2 separate regions of the Homo sapiens genome follow, and region 1 is linked to region 2. Evidence: promoter capture Hi-C in human tissues and cell types (Jung and others, 2019). All regions are on one chromosome and are shown on one strand. The core of a region is centred on a gene start or on the middle of the fragment in contact, and the rest is flanking DNA. Distances in the headings are between cores, read along the strand shown. Region 1 overlaps LIMS1 (LIM zinc finger domain containing 1). Region 2 holds the start of SULT1C4 (sulfotransferase family 1C member 4).

Region 1 (5,344 bases), core at 1,976-4,475, 180 kb after region 2:
AAAGCATAAAAAGAGTCATAATTCATGTGGGCCTCCTCCTTACATAAGAGAATATGCTGCCACTTTCTAGCATGGTCTTCCATGCTCTCTCCTGGACACAATTTGTAGGGTTCAAGGTTTCCTTCTCTCACTGCCCAGATGCAGCCTGGGTGCAGATAAATATCTTTTGAGGGAGAGAGTTAGTACTTGTCTGGGGCTCACTGCCGTTTGTGTGCTTTTAACTGTTGGTCCTTTTTAAAATCATTGCTCCACGATTGAAGCAAATGACCTTTAACTGTTATATAAACTTGGAGAGCCAGTTGAGGACAGTGCTTTATGCTTGGCAGGAGTAAGTGCGGGTCATAATAGAAGCTTTTTAGCAGTGGATTCTGGGCTAAAGTTTCTCTAGGAAAGGCCCAGGATCACACAATCCCAAAATACTAGAGTTAGAAGAGACTTTAGAGAACTATCCAGCTCTCTTTCATTAGAAATAATGATAGTTTTTCATTGACATTCCTATTTTGTGGTCTTCTCTTTGCTTGGAAGGTAAATCCCTTGCTTTGCAAAACACTCTTATTAGTGCCATAAACTACTAAGGAACAGGAAATTCCAAATTGCAGGCTAGTACAGACCCAGACGAGCCTTCCCAGAATCTCTGGGGAACTGGCTTCAGGCCGTACACCCCCAGAACTGCTGTGATGACTCTGTTGGACATTAGAGTATATGGAGGAGCCATGCCTGAGATCATTTTCAATCTGAACATCCAGGATTTGTGAGAATTACAGAGTTCTCTGGTGTATGGGGAAAACTGGGATTACTCTTCTACCATACGGAGAACTTCGAATGATAGGGACAAACATTTGTGTAGTGTTTGATGATATAGATAGGCATGATTATCCTCATTCTCTTTTATTTTTTTAGATAAGCAAACCAAGACTCAGGAAATACTTGTTTACTCACATAGTTGGTTGGTAAAATGACAAAGCTGATGTTGAGACCTGGGCCCTGGAATTTCCGATCCTATGCATTTCCTGTAGCATTACATTTTCTCTGGGAAATCCATTCAATGTTGGGGAACACCTTGTTATTCTGAAGCCAAGGAAATTGCCAGGAGAGGATAGAAGAGGTGGTGGAGGAATGACACCTCTTGGTGGGGTCAGTGGTATTGAGATCCTGTGGAAAATCTAGGAGATGCTGCTACTTATTTCCTGTATATTCACTTGATACCTATTGCCCTTTACATCTTCTTCAGTATGAGCCAGACTAACCCATGGCTCCACTTCATCCCAGACTCTAGAGCCTACACTCTATTCCCGAGGAGTGGTCACCTTCTCCCCCTGTACTTGGCATGGTGTCCCATTGGGGTAGTGCTACTGAAGGACAGTCTCTGAAGAAGAGTATCTTCCTTATTCTTGGGGTAGAAACTCTTAACATAGATGGGGTGATAAAATGCAAGAGATTTATAACAGCTTGCCATTAGAGCTAGAGTATATTATTTATCACCATTGATTATTTTGCCAAATGTTTTTGTTTAAAAAGCTTCTTAGTTTCTGGATGCCTCAGGGTAATTTGTCACCTGCACTATTCAATATCCGTGCCATTACAGCTGAGAGGAGTGTGCTGGCCTCTAATGTTCAGAGCGCAGCTGGCAACCAGCCTGACAAAAGTACATGACATGACGCTCTCAGGAGGCGGCCAGACACCCTGGTCACTAGGGGAGGTGTGCTCTTTAGGTAAGGGACACACAAACCATTGTTGAATAGCTCCTGTGTGCAGAGAGGGACCAGGAGCATAATCATTATCTGGAAGCTTATTGAAGATGTAGAATCTTGGGCCCTATCTATCTCAGACCTACCAAATCCGGATCTGTGTTGTAGTGAGATCCTCTGGGAGTTCATGTGCATTAAAGTTTGAGAAACACAGGAATAGTGGACAGTGCTGGCTGCCTATCAGCATCCATTTCCTTTGTCTTTCCTAATAACGAGATGCACATTTTCTTCGGTTACTTCCCCTTCACCCTTAGCCATGAGAATCCATTCTTTAAGTAGGTGAGAGCATGGTTTTCCCGTGGTGACTGTTTATGGTCTAGAGGTATCCACATGATCTGGGTTGCCTCAGTCATAAGGAAAGACTTTATTTTTTGAGGGGGGAGGGGGAAGCATTTTCCTTCACATCCAGAATGAGAGAGCAAATAATGAAGCATAGCTGTGACCGTATTTCCACTGGCAGCCATTCTGTGACCTTGAGGGGATCAGTCTTGAGGTGAGTCTGACACTGAAGTTGTCAGAGCAGAAAGACAGAAGGAACCTGCATTTTTGGTTCTGGCACTCACCTGCTGGTCACAGGATCCAGGCCTGGATCTCCCTCTGCCTCTCATCTCATAGTTCTGTGTGATAATAAATTTTCCCATGGTTTATGCCAGTTTGACTTTGGGTTTTCTGATTTCCTGCAGCTGGAAGCATCCTAGTCTGCTTTGGTAATGAGCACTCTGAGCACAAAGTGCTGTGTGCGTGGTCCTCTTGTGAAAGGCCTACATTCTCAGGTGCTCCTAGGCTTTTCTCCTAGTCTTGTGAATTGTGCTTTTACCCTGTGGTGATTATTCCACTGTTCACATGAAAGTTGGTGGAGGGAGAGGAAAGCTATAAGGGCAGAGAGTAGAATTGGGAGGCTGTCCTGAGGGAAGGCAGGCTTGCACTCAGAAGTGCTGTGTGCTGGACTGTGGGGTGAGCCAGGCTGCAGTTGGCTGGCTGTGGAGCCCACTGGCTGGAGTGCTGGTCCATGCTTTGCTCCTCATTTGGTGTTTGAACCTCAGTTTCCTTATCTGTAAAATAGAATCCTAATGAAATAGTGGAGGTAGATTGGAAATGCTTTGAAAACTTGACTCTTTTTTGCCCGGTTTAATTATCCTGGTTTTTTTTTTCCTTTTTTGCTATAGCAAAATATAAATAACACAAAATTTACCATCATAATCATTTTTAAGTGTATAATTCAGTGACAGTAACTTCACATTCACAATGCGATTAAACAATAACTCCCATTCTGCCTTGCCCCCAGCCCCTAGTAACTTCTGTTCTACTTTTTGTCTCTATGAATTTGCCTACTCTAGGTACGTCATATAAGTAGAATCATATATTTTTATCCTTTTGTGTCTTGCTAATTTTACTTGGCATAATGTCCCCAAGGTTCATCCATGTTGTAGCTATATCAGAATTTTGTTCCTTTTTATGGCTGAATAATATTCCATTGTATGTATATACTGTACTTGTTTATCCATTTATCTGTTGATGGACACGGGTGATTTTCACCTTTTGGCTATTGTGAGTAATGTCACTTATGAACACTTGAGTACTGTGAGCACTGGTGTACAAATATCTGTTTGAGTCCCTGCTTTTAATTCTTTTGGGCATATACCTAGGAGTGGAGTTGCTGGATCATATGGTAATTCTGTGTTTACCTTTTAGGACCTGTCAAACTGTTGAAAAGTTAACTCTTATGTTATTTATATTTTCAGACATAGATTGGAAGATGGACTTATGCTTTTTCTCTTTCTCTCCTTTCCTTCCCTCCCTTCCTTTGTTGGAGGCTGAAAGAATGAGGGTCAGTGATCAACTCAGTATACCACTGGAGGCTATATGAGTAAACAGCAAACTGTTCTCATGAATGCAGAATGTTAGCAAGCTGACAACTGCGTCTGCTGCCCAGAAGGAATGCTGAGGGCAGTCATGCCCCAGGCACAGTGTTGCTTGTGATTAGGCAAATCTGAAGCCTGTTAGCAATAATGTGAACCTGTGATCAGTCAAGCAGCTGACCAATCGTTACCTACTCCTCCCTGCTCTTTCTACCCAATAAATACAAAGGCTGTAGAAGCTCAGGGCTGCCTTTGCTCACTAGAAGCAGGGATCCCCCTGACCCCTTCTTTAAAACAGTTTCTTTTTTGTTTTCATTTCTGCGTTCATCCGCCTTCGTTCAGTCCTGTAGTAACTGTCACTACCTACCTACCTTTGTTCCTTCCTTCCTTCTCCCCTACCCTTGACATATAGGGTCTCACTGTGTCTCCCAGGCTAGAGTGCAGTAGAGCCATCACAGCTCACTGCAGCCTCAACCTCCTGAGCTTAAGCGATCCTCCCACCTCAGCCTCCTGAGTAGCTGGGACCACAGGCGCACACTACCGTGCCTGGCTAATTTTTCATTTTTTGTAGAGACGGTGTCTCTCTATGTTGCCCAGACTGGTCTTGAACTCCTGGGCTCAAGTGTTGCTCCTGCCTCAGCCTCCCAAAATGTTGAGATTACAAGTGTGAGCCAACACGCCCAGCCTTTTTTTCTTAAGACTATAGATTTTCATTGGTTGAGAGGACTTGGTAATTTTAACATGGAACTTCTGAACTGACCATTTTATAAGATATCGAACATATGATCAGATTCATATTTTACCCTCATTAATCAAAAAATAGTAGGAACTTTTTTTTTTTTGAGAGACCTAGTCTTGCTCTGTTGCCCTGGCTAGAGTGCAGTGGCACAATCTGGGCTCACTGCAACCTCTACCTCCCATGTTCAAGCAGTTCTCCTGCCTCAGCCTCCCTAGTAGCTGGGACTACAGGTACGTGCCACCACGCCCAGCTAATTTTTGTATTTTGATAGAGATGGGGTTTCACCATGTTGCCCAGGCTGGTCTCAAACTCCTGACCTCAGGTGATCCACCTGCCTCAGCCTCCCAAAGCGCTAGAATTACAGGCATAGGCCACCATGCCCAGTTGGAATTTTCTGTAAAGTTTCAAAGATTTAAGTGAACATGATTCTTGAAGTTGTTGATTTGAAGGTACCCAACTTTGTGTGTGAGAACAAATTGGTTTATTTCTACTAATAAGTACAATGTTATCTCTATGATCTGTGAAAAACAAAAGGCTGAATGTATGAAGGGGAAATTATGGATATAAAATACAAGATCTCACAGTTCTATTAATACTTTCTAGCAAACAGACTATTTAATACCTAAAAATTTTAAGTATAGGACTATGAAGAAAGCCATTATGAGAATTCCTGTTACAGTATCTTTGAAACATACTAGAAGGTAATTATAGATTTAAAATGGATTGCCCCTTCTTTCCTTGAACTTGTAGTATCGGTTATATCAGCCCACCTGAAGATTTGTGCATTTTTTTCTTTTTTTTTTTTTGAGACGGAGTCTTGTTCTGTCGCCCAGGCTGGAGTGCAGTGGCACAATCTTGGCTCACTGCAAGCTCCACCTCGTGGGTTCACGCCATTCTCCTGCCTCAAACTCCCAAGTAGCTGGGACTACAGGTGCCTGCCACCATGCCTGGCTAATTTTTTAGTAGAGATGGGGTTTCACTGTGTTAGCCAGGATGGT
Region 2 (5,700 bases), core at 1,589-4,088:
TTCAAGTGATTCTCCTGCCTCAACCTCCTGAGTAGTTGGGATTCCAGGCATGCACCATCACGCCTGGCTAATTTTTCTATTTTTAGTAGAGTCAGGGTTTCGCCATGTTGGCCTGGCTAGTCTCAAACTCCTGACCTCAGGTGATCTGCCCACCCTGGCCTCCCAAATGCTAGGATTACAGGCATGAGCCATCGCGCCTGGCCGGGTGTGTTTTAAAACAGTGTGCCGAGTCAAAACGTCTTTTAGACATATTCCTTTTTTTTAATTTTATTTATTTATTTTTTTTTTTGAGATGGAGTCTCACTCTGTTGCCCAGGCTGGAATGCAGTGGTGCGATCTTGGCTCACTGCAAGTTCCGCCTCCTGGGTTCATGCCATTCTCCTGCCTCAGCCTCCCGACTAGCTGGGACTACAGGCACCTGCCACCATATCCGGCTAATTTTTTGTATTTTTAGTAGAGACGGGGTTTCACCGTGTTAGCCAGGATGGTCTCAATCTCCTGACCTCGTGATCCACCTGCCTCGGCCTCCCAAAGTGCTGGGATTACAGGCATGAGCCACCATGCCCTGCCTACATATTCCTTTCGTAAAAAGCAAACAAACAGAGACCTGTTTAAGGGTAGTAACCAGCATGCTGGATTTTACTAACAAAAAAAGAGTTTGGAAACCCCAGTTACAAATTTTGCAAATGAATCACATTTGAGGCCTGAACAAGTTAGTAGTTTGCAAAAAGGACATCTAAAGCGCGTTAAGAGTTGGAATCTCCTCTCCATGCTCAGAAGCAAACAGTGACAGAGTTGAAAGGGAGGTTCAGGGAAGAATTAGAGGGGGAGAGTATATTAGCTTTATCTTGGGTACCCAATATATCCCAAGATTATAGGATACCTTATTTACATCCAACATTACATTAACCCTGTGAGATTAATAAAAAACGAAAGGCTCAGAAGAGATAAGTATTAGAAAAGTTACACAGCTATTAGGGGGCAGTTTAAATTCAAACCCATATATTTAGAATTCCAAAGCAATGCTTGTCAAATATAGACTTAGCACCAACTTTATTCTTATAATCACTAAATATATTTATTTAATTCTCCTAACCTCATGAGAAAGTACTATTGAGTAAAAACATTAAGTGAGAATAAGAGCAGTGTTTGTAGTCAAGATCACTTTTCAAATTATTTGGAACTTCCCATCTTCCCTGGATCTATTTTCAATCCCAGTCAGTCATCTTTGGGTCCAGAAGCATATCCTCCCCCATCTCCCAGCCCTCCCCCTCTAGCACACAACGCACTGGAGAAAACTGCTAAGGCATTGCTGAATATCTACCACTCTACTCTGATGGCACACAGGGCCAAAAAGATTATAGAATAAAATCTAACTGAAAAATTATAGGTGATTTTTATAAGTCTGTTTAAATGCATATGCATCCCAGGCATTCCACCTGGCAGTCTCTGTCTCAAGGGCCCATCCACCTCACCATGGTCTGGAGGGAGGGGATGAGGAATAGGGAAAGCCAAAGAATTGATCTTTTCTGAGTTTGCATCCAGAACATGGGCCACAGAGAAATGGTGAACAAAGTCACCCATTATTATTAACAGCTATGATTTATTCAACATTTCCCTGTTGCCAAGCATTAAATAAGCTGTTTTATCTCCCCACAACCATGAGGTAGATAATGTTAAGATCCCCAATTCAGACCTGAGGAAAAGCGTGATATGAAACAGAGAAAGATTCTGTAACCTGCCATTGCCCACAGCTACTGGGACTTGGCACAGGGTTCAAATACAGGCAGCCTGACTTCTCTCTGAAGGATGTCAAGCCACAGCCACCATACTCACCTAGTCCCCACATAATGATGGCCCAAGGAACTCGCTTCCTCAATTTTTGCTTAGTTTTACTCATTCATTCTTTCGAGAAATAGAAGAATGCCAGACACTAGGCATACAGCTATCAAACAGTGAGAAAACAACAGGCCCCATTTCATGTGCCTTAGAGTGTAGTGAAGGAGACAGAAAATGCCAACAAGTAAACACGCAAAAACTAACTGTCAATGGTTGCTCTAAAGGAACACAAAGTGCCATGAGCAAGGAAATAGGAGGGACCTACTTGAGATGACATAGAAAGTCAAAGAAGGCTTCTCCAGAAAGGGGGCATCAAAGCTGGGACACGAAGAAAGAGAATCAGACAGCCAGACACACAAGAGCCGACAAGATCTCCAGAAGGAGTGCTGCCATGGGGAGCAAGTGTGGCATGGCCCTGGGGTGCAGGCCAGGCCGGGGGCAGGGACTGAAGCAAGTTGTGAAATTTCTGATTATCAGGGGCAGAATGGATTCCTAAGGCAGCCACTGTCTTCTGTTAACTCTGGAGTTTTCTGCATCCCTTTTGCTTTAAATGAGGCATACATGTTTTCATAGCTGTGATGAAACCCCTACAATTCTCCAGTTTAGCATTATTTATTTTACTCTTAAAAAATAACAAAGCTGACCCTGGCAGATGTTTGTACTGGGAGATTCAGATCCATCCAGGCCCCCACTGTTAATAGCCCACGGGAAAGTCCCTGCAGTCTCTCAGGGAAGTCATTCTGTGTAGAATCTGTAATTTCACAGGCAAGTCCTGCAACTTTTTAATTGTTTAAAATTCCCAGAAGGAATAATTACTGAAATTATCTATGAAGGGTTTAATGGACACAGACATGAGAGCTATAAACAATGTGATACTATGTCCTGTTAACTCACAGAGAACGGAAGGGCTGGAACGGGACCCAGCCAGCAGGGTTTGTGACCGCCTCTGCTGTGACGTCACAGCCTGGTGAGGAGGGGGCTGCAGTTCCTCAGGAAACTGCCAGTGGACAAATTCATAAACAAGAGCTCCAGTTCCCTGGAACCTGAGTCGGGAGACCTGCAGCTCACTTTCTCCCTGTTTGCTGGCCAGCAGGGTTTGTGGCCGCCTCTGCTGTGACGCCACAGCCTGGTGAGGAGGGGGCTGCAGTTCCTCAGGAAACTGCCAGTGGACAAAGTCATAAACAAGAGTTCCAGTTCCCTGGAACCTGAGTCGGGAGGCCTGCAACTCACTTTCTCCCTGTTTGCTGGCCCAGACAGGCCTGTGCTAGAGGGCTGGATAGTGTGGTAGTGTGGTGGATAGAGTGCTGCCTCTATCCACAACGCAGCCATATGCTGACTGAAGATAACTTTGTGTCTGGAAGAGCCCTCTGATTTCTTACACTAATGGCCTTACACGACATGGAGGATTTTACATTTGATGGAACAAAGCGCTTAAGTGTCAACTACGTGAAGGGAATTCTTCAACCGACAGACACCTGTGACATCTGGGATAAGATCTGGAACTTCCAAGCCAAGCCTGATGACCTGCTTATTTCTACCTATCCTAAAGCAGGTAGGTGGAAGGGCTTGCAGGGGAAGGGGAAGAGGAGAGTTAGGAAGGTAAGTGGAAGTATGCATTAGTCATGAAATAAAGAAGTTGATCTGGAAAACTCTGGACAGAGTGATATGGCTAAGGAAAGTTACTAGTGGAAACTGAAGCTATACCGAAACATACTAAAATGACATACAAATTTTTAGAATTCAATCTTCCTATGATACTATGATGTACTTCCTTTTTTTTTTTTTTTCACTTTCCCAGGAGAGAGTGAAAACAGTTAAGAGCAAAAGGGTAGACTTGTTTATTTATTCATTCCCAATCTAGGCCCTTATTGTAGATCTTGTAAAAAGCTGCTTTGAGTGTGTGAGCTAGAAAGGTGATCCTGAGTCTGATTTGGGAAAGAAATAGGGGAGCTTTGGTTCTGCAATGCTGATATCACCTCAGCAGCCCTCCCATCTCAGGGTCTGAGAACCATCCTTCTGATTTCCACCTTCCTTTGTGGTAAGTTTTGAACCAACTGCCTTATCTCAACAATCAGTTTAACAAAGTTGTCTGTAAAAGTAGGACTAGCTTAAGCCGAGCCACCACGTCATAAAAATTGGGTGATGATGAGGTGGAAATAGTTCTCTATAAATATTTTTGCATATCTACATATCTACTAGAAATACATTACTGGGTCCACACACAAATTGTATATACATTTGCTCTTTGCAAAATCAAGCTGTCAAAAACTCTTGTTATACACACACAAACACACACACATCAAAAAATCTAAACCTCAGTATTTTCTGAGACTGTTCAAAATCCTCTTTTGTTCTTATCTCTCAAGATCCTGACAGAAGATTCTGCAGGCACATGGAGGCCTTGGTCTCTTCTTTGTCCATCTGTTTCATTTTGGTCCTGATTTCCCAATCTTACTCATCAGGAGCCCATTCAGGATCAAATTTTTCTGAATGTAAATTTCTAAAAGTAGCCACTGGTGAGGATCACATCTCATCATCTTAATTTCATTGACAATTCCACTTGATTATCAATTCAATACATAAATAATCTTTTCTCTATCTGCCAAACGCAAGTACAAAGATATGGTTCATTTAGGTTTTTCATGGCATTAATGAGGTTTAAGCAATTCAAAAAGCACACTAAGAAAATTAAATACTTGCCATCTAAAGTAATATTTAATCATAACTAAAACCATATACATTAATGAAGGCTATTTTATTAGAAGGAAGAAGAAACAAGCATAGATGGCAAAAATAGTTCACCCTAAATTTTTAAAAGAATAATACTCTGAATGACACAAGAAAAAAATACATCATAGAATCACTGGCCTCTAGAGAATAAATTGAGAAGTCATTCCACTCACCCCGGAGCCTCTAGCAACATTTGAATCTGCCCTCATGTTGGCTCATGTCTATAAATTCATTCAATTCATTCATTATAGACATTCAGTGTTATGGCTATAAATTCCCATAAAACTAGTACAAATGGCTGGACTATTCTTTGCATGGATAGCTAAAGATATCTTGGCCCTTTGTCCTGTAATAAAAGTTGCTGCCAGAAAATACAGGAGACCAACTACTATAAAATATAAAATGTAATTTAATTTTTTTCTAACCTATGCCCTTATTCTAGGCCTTTAAAAGCACTAAATTGAGAATATGGGAAAAGGAATCTATAGAGTTTCGGCCAGATAATACAGGAAAGATCAACCTAGATCAGGATTCAGAAAGCCATCCTGGCTAGGCATGGTGGCTCACACCTGTAATCCCATCACTTTGGGAGGCCAAGACAGGGGGATCTTTTGAGGCTAGAAGATTGAGACCAGCCTGGGCAACATAGGGAGACTCCTATGTACAAAAAAAAAATAAAAATTAGCCAGGCATGGTGGTGTGCACTCACAGTCCTAGCTATTTGGGAGGTTGAAGCAAGAGGACCATTGAGCCCAGGAGTTGGAGGCTGCACTGAGCTAGGATCCCACCACTGTACTCCAGCCTGGGCAACAGAGCAAGACCCTGTCTCTGGAAAAATAAAAAATAAAAAAAGCCATCCTAAAATAACTCAACATCCTCCTAACCTGGATTTTGCCAGAACATCTGGTGCAACAGATCTTCATCAAAGGGTGAAGATTATGTTGATAGCACAATATCACTGTATCAGTCAGGATCAGTGCAAGACACAGACAGACTGAAGCTGGGGGATACCATTCTACCTATGGCCACAGTGGCAGTGGTTGGGTCTAGGGCACTGGGCCATGGAACGTGGAATGGTCTCTGCAAAATTTCTATCTGCTGGGGCTACTATCAGCAGCCACCACCTCAGGA

Evidence for each region. The method cuts DNA at HindIII sites, captures the fragments that hold promoters and counts their contacts. A contact is called where the count stands out against the background at its distance.
Region 1: a fragment that was not itself captured here is called in contact with the fragment with the promoter of SULT1C4 in region 2 in 1 of the 25 tissues and cell types used here (neural progenitor cells).

Annotation. Positions count from the first base shown.
Region 1 is chr2:108,553,084-108,558,427 of GRCh38, forward strand. All of the region lies in intron 1 of LIMS1 (LIM zinc finger domain containing 1), which reads left to right. Among named protein-coding and RNA genes, the nearest start is that of LIMS1, 21 kb to the left of the region's middle. The HindIII fragment of the contact is 4,582 bases long and covers 935-5,344 here.
Region 2 is chr2:108,375,116-108,380,815 of GRCh38, forward strand. It overlaps SULT1C4 (sulfotransferase family 1C member 4), which reads left to right and starts at 2,839. Exons shown (of 7, transcript NM_006588.4): 1 at 2,839-3,391. The coding sequence starts at 3,223. The HindIII fragment of the contact is 17,622 bases long and covers 1-5,700 here.